Linked DNA regions of Homo sapiens: regions 2 and 3 are each linked to region 1. The links are contacts of gene promoters, found by promoter capture Hi-C in blood cells and fetal thymus (Javierre and others, 2016). All regions are on one chromosome and are shown on one strand. Each heading gives the region's core, a stretch centred on a gene start or on the middle of the fragment in contact. The rest is flanking DNA. Distances are from core to core; before and after follow the strand shown. Region 1 has its middle 13 kb from the start of CLEC2D. Region 2 holds the start of KLRK1 (killer cell lectin like receptor K1). Region 3 holds the start of M6PR (mannose-6-phosphate receptor, cation dependent).

Evidence for each region. The method cuts DNA at HindIII sites, captures the fragments that hold promoters and counts their contacts. A CHiCAGO score of 5 or more calls a contact.
Region 2: the fragment with the promoter of KLRK1 here is called in contact with a fragment that was not itself captured in region 1 in 1 of 17 cell types (naive CD8 T cells); the score reaches 7.3 in naive CD8 T cells.
Region 3: a contact is called between the fragment with the promoter of M6PR here and a fragment that was not itself captured in region 1, in 1 of 17 cell types (non-activated CD4 T cells). The highest score is 6.4, in non-activated CD4 T cells.

What each region holds. Positions count from the first base shown.
Region 1 is chr12:9,654,951-9,658,318 of GRCh38, reverse strand. It overlaps the pseudogene LOC374443. Among named protein-coding and RNA genes, the nearest start is that of CLEC2D, 13 kb to the left of the region's middle. The HindIII fragment of the contact is 318 bases long and covers 1,606-1,923 here.
Region 2 is chr12:10,388,531-10,391,898 of GRCh38, reverse strand. It overlaps KLRK1 (killer cell lectin like receptor K1), which reads left to right and starts at 1,858. Exons shown (of 8, transcript NM_007360.4): 1 at 1,858-1,956; 2 at 3,024-3,128. The coding sequence starts at 3,089. It overlaps KLRC4-KLRK1 (KLRC4-KLRK1 readthrough), which reads left to right. Exons shown (of 13, transcript NM_001199805.1): 6 at 8-64; 7 at 3,024-3,128. The coding sequence starts at 3,089. All of the region lies in intron 3 of KLRK1-AS1 (KLRK1 antisense RNA 1), which reads right to left. The HindIII fragment of the contact is 4,388 bases long and covers 1-3,368 here.
Region 3 is chr12:8,947,887-8,951,254 of GRCh38, reverse strand. It overlaps M6PR (mannose-6-phosphate receptor, cation dependent), which reads left to right and starts at 1,610. Exons shown (of 7, transcript NM_002355.4): 1 at 1,610-1,767. It also overlaps a transcript of KLRG1 not described here. RefSeq lists enhancers at 908-1,037, 536-1,440, 1,441-2,346 and a silencer at 1,016-1,230. The HindIII fragment of the contact is 9,162 bases long and covers 1,134-3,368 here.

The DNA of each region.
Region 1 (3,368 bases), core at 515-3,014:
AAAAACATCCTTATAAATTAATTTTACGTAATTAATTTTGTTTTGCTTGATCTTAATTAGCAATTTTGGACTATAGCTGATTGCGAACGCTTCCAAAGAAGAAATTAAAATAATAACTGTGAATGACAAAAACCCAGAACAGCCATAGGTAAAGATCTGATTAACGTTACCAATTAACCAGGAAATTTAAGTGCTTCTGTGGCATACAATCATCCAACATAAAAATTGCAATTATTACAGGTATCTCAGCATGTCAGTATCTTAGGAATCTCATAAAATTTCACATTTCTATAAATGATGAACTTACACAAACACAGCTTAAAGAAAGGTAAAACACCATTTCTTATTTGACAATGCTTCTAGCAGTATTTGCCAAATAAGCCTAATCATTTAATAACTCTACAAGAAAGACAAGCCTTTGGAGGAGCATATCTAGGGGGTCCACCTGGAAAAATCCCAGTCATTTTTAGGCCAAAAGGCTTAATTTAGGATTTGGATTCTAGAGAAACCTGCCAAAGATGTCAAAAAGCTTAAAATACTTCCTTCAACAGATAATAAGTCACTGCTAAGAATACTACTCATTTAATCAGAGTGACAACCTAAAGACCTCAGAAAGTTACATGGATGGAAAAACTTTTACCCTTTTAAGGCTCAGTTTCCCTAAGCAGTCAAAGCCTAATAAAGACACCATGAAGCACTGGGAATTATCTTGGTAAAACACAGAATCTTTGTTTTCTAGGCCAGTGACCTTGATCAGGGGAATACATTTAATAACAACATAGGAAATCCTAGTAACAAAACAATTTTGACACATTAAGAAAAAACAACAATATAGAATCAAGTTTTGCTGAAGTAAAATGTTGCCTTTCTAGACCTTTAAGATAAATCCCAAACCAGGACTAGACAGTTCTCAGGAAGGAATGTGGCAGAAATAGGAATTAGTTTGTAATTCAGAATGGCTGTTAAGGAAACATTGCAGAATTAAAAATCAAAGCCTCTTGTAATCTTACTAAGAACAAATCAATATTTTAAGAGACTCATATTGTTTTAATGTAGGAGACCAAAATTTAAGTTTTGTATCAGTGCATCTTAACATCAAAGTTCCATTTTTTCCAACTTTTATTTTAGATGTAGGGGATACATGTGCAGGTCTGTTACTTGCAGTTTTTCCAGGGGCATGGTGGAAGCTGCTGCTGATTCCACCATTCTGGAGTCTGGAGGATGGTGGCCCTCTTCTCACAGCTCTACTAGGTAGTATCCCAGTGGGGACATAACTGGCAACTGTAGACATAATTGTTTGGCTTGCTACAAATCCATTTTCTGTTCATGTAGATTCTGCCACTGTTGACTCCATTGTCATTCAGGAAGGCACATTCTCCACTTCCTCTGATAGCAAGCCTAAATCCAAACACAAAAATATTAAATATTTGTAAGTTAGACACCTGCATTTGTTCCTCCCCATCATCTTCTGCAACCCCTCCATATTTCAATGTGAATAAGAGAAAAGCAAAAGTCTGTCATTAATATTGCTTCATAGTAATATAAACCATTTCTGTATTTAGTGTCCTTTATGTCCTCAAGGTCCTTGCTTGAAAATCACAAGCTTATCATTCATCCATACCAAGCCCAGCTATGTTGATAGGTATTTAACTGATGCTTGCTGCTGTACCCAAATGAACTGCTGCCATTGGTGGTCTTCAGTCAAGATGATTTCCAGCCTCCTCCCAAATTGTTTTGTAAATGTGTGAAAACTAAAAAAAAAAAAAAAACTAGTAAATTCCTGAAAGGGCTTAGCTTTGATTAATGGATATGACTGGGTTCCTACATTTTATCTGCTGCAATGTAATGATTATATTCAAAATACCCCTTTGAAATGTTCACAGTCCAAGGAACTGTTACTAGTTTCCTTCTGGTGATAAAGCTTTAGGAGGGAGAGATTCCCATGAGTTCCCTGGATGCTTTCCTATTGTAAATGGATGCAACACCTGCAAGAGTGGGCTTAACAGCCTTGTGGATATCAGCTCCTCAGTGGCTTCCTATGATTGTAGAACCTTTGTTGCACATCAGCTATAAGTAGGGATTTCAGCAGTTTTAAATCAGTGGATGAAAGTGTAAAATTGTGAGAAATGTCACTGTCACATTAAAGACTTCAACTGAAATCACAGGTAAAGCTTTCCCAAAGACACAGCTAACCAACTGAAGAGCATAAAAAGGGTTTAGATTTCTTACCTCATATTGCAGTAAGTTTTCCATGATACTACATTTCTTATCTCATAAACACAACTCACACACATAACCATACATAAACACAGCAAAAGATGAGAAGTCTCAAAACATACATGTTATTATATTCCATGTTGTCTGTCCATTTCCAAATGCGATGGGATGATTCTCTTCTAAGGCCAATCCAATGGTCAGAAGGGCCTTTGTATCTTTTCAGGAAATTCTATAATAAAACAGAAACTAACACCATGAGCCCCTTTCTTTCATATTACTCTGGAGTCTCTCTTCCCTATCCCTTCTCTTTTTCACTGGCAGCGTGGTATAATTAAGCAGCATAAATTCTGGAGTGAGACTAATTCCCAGTTCTCAGTTTAAGTCATTTAACGTCTCTGATCCTAAATTACTTTATTTAAAGTGAGCATAAATCCCAGTTTCATTGGGAAATTCTCAGTTTATGCTTGTCATTCCACCAATGTATTAATGATCACTTTTAATGCCCTATATGTCTTAATCTAGATGACAAATTATATAATTACCTTACTTCTTAATAGAATGAGAACAATACATCTCATCTTACCAGCTCACCATGAGCATTACATGGGGAAATATATCTAAAATGTCTCACAGGGTTCCAGGCAGAGAACACACCCTCAACAAATGTTAGACATGAAAACACATCTCATGCCCCTGGAATGGGATCCTTCTTAGTATTTCAGCTTTAACCCTATGTAGCCGACCTGCCTCAGGGGGCTAAGTATTTAACAGAAAACATGATCCAAAAATATCTCTTACCAGTTCCTCCATAGTTGCAAACTGAGCAAGGCTGGCTTCTAATGAGACACAGAACGTTTGACTCAATGTCTAATTTCTTATGCCTTCAGAAAAATAAAAACATTTACTCCTAAATCTAATTCAGCTTTTTGGGCAAGCAGCGTATTTAGATGACTCTACCACTGGCTTTTCCTTTCTTGCTAAAAGTGAGACAATCACAATGAAACATAATAAAGAAATTTTCTCACCCATTTTATCTATTTTTCTGCTTACCTTCCTGAGGTCAATTTTGAAGTGTACATATCTGATTGTTGTTTTCCTAACTCATCACAAAGTGCCTTATCCTAAGCACAACAATCGTCAGTCCGGTGGTT
Region 2 (3,368 bases), core at 609-3,108, 730 kb before region 1:
CTTTTAGGTATGTGTGGGGACTTCCCAGTTGGCTGTAAGTTGCCATTTGAACTAAACGAAATAGGTAGGATATTCAAATGTTCTTTTTTATCCTATTCCTATCCCCCTTTTCTCAATTCTGTATTTAAGAGACAATCTCTATTCAATCGAAAACTACATATATAAAAATAACTCTTCAGGAAATTGTGATTCAGGTTTTTCCCATAAAAAGCCTGCATTTACTCATTTATTCATTTCCTTTCAAAAACCAAATATTTGTTAAAATGTAGTTGTTAGAAAATATCAGCCTATATTTCCTCTATATAGATCTATTTTTACTATATAAAATAGCTAATAGAAAATGTTGATTAGCTGAAAAGAATCTTGGTATGTCAGAAAATAACATATTTTCTTCAACTTGTTTTATATTCACCTATCTTGTTTAATTTTGAATTTGTTTTATACTTATTCATTTTATATCACCTAAACTAAAAAGTAATTTCCAGCTGGGTGTGGTGGCTCACGTCTGTAATCTCAGCACATTGGGAGGCTGAGGCAGGAGGATCACCTGAGGTCAGGAGTTCGAGACCAGCCTGACTAACATGGTGAAACCTCGTCTCTACTAGAAATACAAAAATTAGCCAGGTGTGGTGGCACATGCCTGTAATCCCAGTTATTCTGGAGGCTGAGACAGGAGAATTGCTTGAACCCAGGTGGCGGAGGTTGCAGTGAGCCGAGATCGCCCCGTTGCACTCCAGCCTGGACAACAAGAGTGAAACTCCATCTCTTAAAAAAAAAAAAAAAAAAAGTAATTAATTTCCATGTGGGCAAAAACTTTCTTTTGGATTGTTTACTTTGACATTCTCAAGATCTAGAAAAGTGCATAGCAAATAGCATTCGCTAAAGAAAAAAAATGTTGAATAAATTTATTGTCCAACTTTAACACATCACCACATGAAAGCTGTTTTCCTTCCTTATATTTCAGAGTTTTAAGATTAATAGCTTTGGTTTTTGTTAAAATGTTATAATGTGTTCATCTTATATTACTTTATATGATGTCTTATGTTAGTATTTTAAATTAATAAACATAAAATATATATTTAGCTTATCTTGTTCATTGGTATCAATTCATATATTATTCTTATGTATACTGGGGTATATATTTAAGTTTCTAATTCTCCTGCATATGATGTAGATATGACAGAGATGCAATTTCATGTTTTTTATATTAAAATTTAAAAATTCCCAGGACTAATTTTTTGTAACTTAAAGGCCAGTGTGATAGTAACCCAGGACAAATTATTGAATAGGAGCTAATTTCCCACTTTATCTGCAATGTTACCTTATATTTTTTAATCTATGCACATGACTTTTTCTTGTCTGTATTTTTACCCTTCTCAATTTGTCTATCTATGCCCCACATGCCACTTTGCCTTTATTAATACGGTTTTAACATAGGTCTTACTATCTAGTAAAACAAGGCTCCCACATTTTCTTCATCTTCAATTGTGACTTTCCTAGTCTTGACTTTTGTAATTTAATGTACATGTAGAATTCTGCTTTGTAAGTTCTACAACAAAACCTGAGGTATTAACTGGAATTGAATTGAATCTCTAAAATATTTAGGATTAAATGGCATCATTTAAATTCATCATTTTCAAATCCTAAAATGTTATTTAAAATAATGGCAAAACTACAATTACTTTTGCACCAACCTAACATTTATCCAACAATGGGTGGTCTTAACTCTTTTACCAAATTAACAATATTTTTGTAGTGATAAGGCGGAAGTACTGTGGTTTATGTTTTTCCACAGGAAGATGAGATTATAATATTTGTCACATCTTTCTCAAAGATAGAAATTCACTAAGTATCTCCACTTTCAATTCTAGATCAGGAACTGAGGACATATCTAAATTTTCTAGTTTTATAGAAGGCTTTTATCCACAAGAATCAAGATCTTCCCTCTCTGAGCAGGTGTGTGTATGTGTGTATGTGTGTGTGTTTATTATTCAAGATATGAGAAATTATATTTCAACCTCAAAAAAATAAAAATATTTACACTATAAGGTAATTCTAATTGTTTCTTAGATGCTTGAATAGAACTCCTGAGGATACGGAATGCTTATCATTTCTGATGTATATTCTATCACTGTATCTGATGATAGGTAATTAGGATATACTTATTGAAGAATCAGAAGTTGTAATATTACTATAAGAAGAAGCCTTGTCTCTAAGCAAAACTAGAAAAATGAATCTTTACATTTAGGATGAGAAGAATTGAGATTCAATTTAAATTGTCAAATTTTTGAGTTTTCTGATGCTGTAGGGGGCACTTACCTTTGATACACATCTTTACATGCAAGGTGAAACAAGTTATATCTGTGCTTTCCAACTATCATAATCAAATATGAAATAGCTTTTATTTTTGAAATCTAAGCACTATGCTTATTTATTAAATGGTTTTTTCTGGAAGCTCTGCTGTGCATTGCTAAGATGTTACTATATAAACATGTGAGATTAGTTTTGTTAATGATGATGGTGATGATAATTTGTTGATGATGATGATATGGGCACGTTGGATTAAAATGCACTAGAAAAGGACATTCAACAAAAGTGCATATAACTTACCTGAGTTTAGCTTGCAGAAAGAAAACTAAATTATTGCCAGATAAAATAAACAACTGGAAACACTTGATCTTAGCTAAAAGGCCAAGAAGCAATAAACGACTATAAACAGAAAACTGGGTGTGTTGTTATCTAATATCAGTAAAGTAAAATATTGGTATTAAATATCTCAATGTAGGTGAATTAATAGGTTCATTATATTGTTATGACATTTTGAAGTAATTGGCGATTATTTTACAACCAAGAGAAATGTATAAAATTAATTTTGCCTGGCTTTATGTGAATTGTCATTTCTATTCTTTTCTTAAAGGCATGCACAGGGGAAAAGTTTCTGCATTTTACTTTTCTATTCAAAATATTTTATCTCACCACGGGAAAGAGAACAAAAAACAAATGCCCAGTTTTATTTTATTCAGGAATCCTTTGTGCATTGAAGACTTTAGATTCCTCTCTGCGGTAGACGTGCACTTATAAGTATTTGATGGGGTGGATTCGTGGTCGGAGGTCTCGACACAGCTGGGGTATGTTTTTACCACATAAGTGTGTAGTTTTGTTTTTATACAATTTTAAGATACCAAGAATTTCATACAAGCATATAAGGCATAGGCAAGCAATTTACTCTGATTCTTTTCATGTTCTATTTATGTTGATTTCATGTTATGTTCATATTGTATTTTAAATCAAGTCTTCCAAAACTTAAAAACTTTTTTCCCTTTATTTTATTAACTATATTATGGTAAAGTCGCTCACAACTTGGGACA
Region 3 (3,368 bases), core at 361-2,860, 710 kb after region 1:
GTGATCCTTCTGCCCCGGAATCCCAAAGTGCTGGGATTACGGGCATGAGCCACAGTGTGGGACTGATACATTTTTGAAAAAAGGAAACAACATATATTCATGAAGGAAATACACACCCTCCTGGTGAGTTTATGTATGATTTTTGTTTTGTTGTTTTCTGTGTTATCTGATCACAAATTACTTTCATTTTCAGGAAGAAAAAAATTTAATTTTTTTTTTTATTGGGGCAACATCCAACCCAGATATGATTACTACCTAGCCTGAACTGAATGTATTACTAATAAACAAAGAAATGCAGAATGGCATACAGTCGGTAAAGCGTAGTGCTTGAGAGCATGGATTATGGAGACTATTTAAATACTGGCTCCATAACTTAATAGCTTGGGACCCACGGTGTTACTTAGCTTCTATCTGCTTTAATTTACTCATCTGTAAACTTGGGATAAGATACTTCCTCATAAGGTTGGTGTGAAGACCAAGTGAATTAACTATCGTTTAAAGCACTTACAAAAGTGCCGGGCACCACCGAGATATGCATCCGTTAGCTTTTATTATTATTAGACTCAAAACACTGTAGTAGTTCTAATGAGAGGGGTAAGAATCAAAAATCCAGGCACCTGCATAGAGCCAGAGAGGCACACATAGAAGCAACGTAAGAGTGGAAGCGGAATGAAAACATGCTAAAGCCAGGTACAAGCCACAAGCGAGGGTCCACAGGAAGAAATTGTTAATTCTGAAGAGAGTGAATGCACGAAGTTACAGGAAAAATAACATCTGAACAGAGTTTAAGAATGAGCAGGACTTCAACAAGTGGCTAGTAAGACATAAGGAACCTACAAAAGATCTTAGCAAAGGCGCAAAGATTACCATCGTATTGCTCGTTTCTTCCTACTTTGCAGAAGTAACCTCTGGCGAACAGAGGTGGTTGCAGAGCATGCTTATCAAGCAAAATACCACGAAGCAGTAAGGAACGACAGAGATAACAGTAACAATAATAATTCACCCCAAGGTACTCAACTGGAAAAAGGAAATACAGAGGAGAGGTGTCGTTAAGAAAGCCAGGACGCACATCACGGCCCCGTCGCTGCACTACTCTCGTCTAGGGGTCAACAGTGGAGTCGAGACTCGAAGCTTCCACGCGGCGGAACAGCGTCCCTCTCAGGCGGCGAACGGGCTAGGGAAGCGCCCGGAGGAGACCTAGCGTGAGAACTACAACTCCCGCGGAGCCCGAGGGCGAGCTGCCTGCGTAACTTCCGCTTCCGCCACCTGCCCCTCTCACCCTCTTCACTCGAACCCTACCCGGGAGCGGTCAGGCGCGTGACCCCGCGTGACCGGGGTGCGCGAGCCGAGAGGCCCTGGAAGCGGGACTCTGGGACCCCATTGAAAGAAAGGCAACCAGAAAAGGCGAAACGACAACCTCGATAGTGATTGGAGCTGATGGAACGAGGGCGGAGCTAAAGTCCCAGAATACTGGCCAATCAGAGTTTAAGATTATCAGGGAGCCCGGGAAGGGGAAAGGGGCGAAATGGTTCTATGGTCACATGCCGCGGGGTCTGGTGGGAGGAGCGGTTGCCCAGCGGCCTCTTGGCGCTTCCTGTTTCCGGTTCCCAGAGTGGGGCACAGCGAGGCGCTAGGGGGAACGCTGGCCTCTGAAACTAGCTCTGGGACCGGGGTCTGCGGCCGGCCCCTAGCTGGCCCCGTCTCCCATCCCCAGAAGGGTATTCACTGGGGATTCTGAGCTTTGGCTACTCCAGTTTCCCACGACACGTGAGTGTGAGGGGCGTGGAGGAGGAGGCGGGCTGGGTTGCGCTCACACTTAAGCGTCTGTGACAGGAGCCGGAATCGCATTCTCCCTTGACCATGGTTCTAGCCAAAGATCTGGCTGAGGAGCCCTAAGGGTAGAATGGAGGCGGAGGCATGAGAGCGGAGAGTCACGGAGTTCCGAAAGGTGTGAGGGAGAAAGGACTTCCAAGACCAGAGAGGGGATTTACGATATTTAGAAAGCAGGGAAAGGAAAATACCCCAAGTATGGAGTCCGTTGGAGGTGTTGGTGGATTTATTTGTAGGAGGAATTTTGGCCTGCATCACGGTGGGAGGTCAAGTGGCATCATTTGGAGAGGGTATGGCTACAAGCGCTTGGAAAGTCGGGACACTAGACAGAGCGAGAATTTCTGGCACCCTGGGAGAGCTTTGAGGGGGATGCGACTGTGGTGTGGATAAGAATGGCTGATGGACGGATTATCTTGTGTTCCTCGTTGTGGGGAGCTTCCGCTCTTGGGACATAGCCGCTACTTGTCTGAGGCTCCTTCTCTCTTGAGTTCTTTCAGCATTAGGCCTTTTAGCCAATTGAGGCTGCTTTTCTAAACATGTAGGCTGCTGGAGAAAAAGGGATAAGGACTGCTACATCAGAAAGGAGCCAGCGGGAAGACAGTAGAAATTCCACTGGTAAATGGCCATGGCTGTCTTAACAGATGGGGAAGTGAGTGCTACAGAGGCCCAGTGGTGTAAGCTGCTTCCCAGTTGCTGGCTTAGTCATTGGCCACCCTAATAAAGGATAATTTTTAGCATTGCCAAATAAAATAGATCTGTCGTTAGAGAATAAGAAAACTGAAAGATTTTTCAAGATCATAAAATCCTGCTCCTTATTTCCAAAGTATATAGACAAACTCTTGTACCTTGAGAATCTAATTGTAGCATATTAAAAGGGGGCTACTGGGCCCTTCCATTTCATTCTCTTCCTGATTGTTGCACCCCTATGTTTATAAGTTTTCCAGCAGTTATCTTTATGCCACGAATCGTCTAAATTGCCCCAGTAACTTCACACACATTTAATATCTGTGTAATGTACAGCAAGTAATTTAACAAGTAATTCTGTAAAGCATCAGTTTTCTCATCTGTGAAGTATGAAAAATTATACCTATTTTCTGGGTTGTGAAGATGAATGAACATAATCTAGGGAAAACATTTAGCGCATATGCCACTGAATTAAAGAGAAGCAGCTTAAATTTAAAGACAAGCCTTAAGCAGGAAAGAAGAATACAGTATAAATTTATTATCCTAACTTTTTGAATAATAAGCAAATGAAAGATAGTTCAACTCAGCTAATGGCTGAGGTGTTTAACCTTTCATCCCTTCCTAATTTTGTGAGATTCCTTGTTCTAATTTAGGAAAAGAAATCAACTGTCAGTTTTTAATTAGGTCCTGAGAGACTGGAAAGGAAAATGGCAGGCTAAGTCAGTCTAGAAGAAGGAGTCTCCTATTTCTTTTTAGTGAGTCAGCTGGTCAAGTTGTGTGTTGAGCAGTGGGTTAACTTAGGGAAGGTGGGAGTTGGAGGTCTGAGTTCTTTATTTCACCTCCTATTCAGTCAA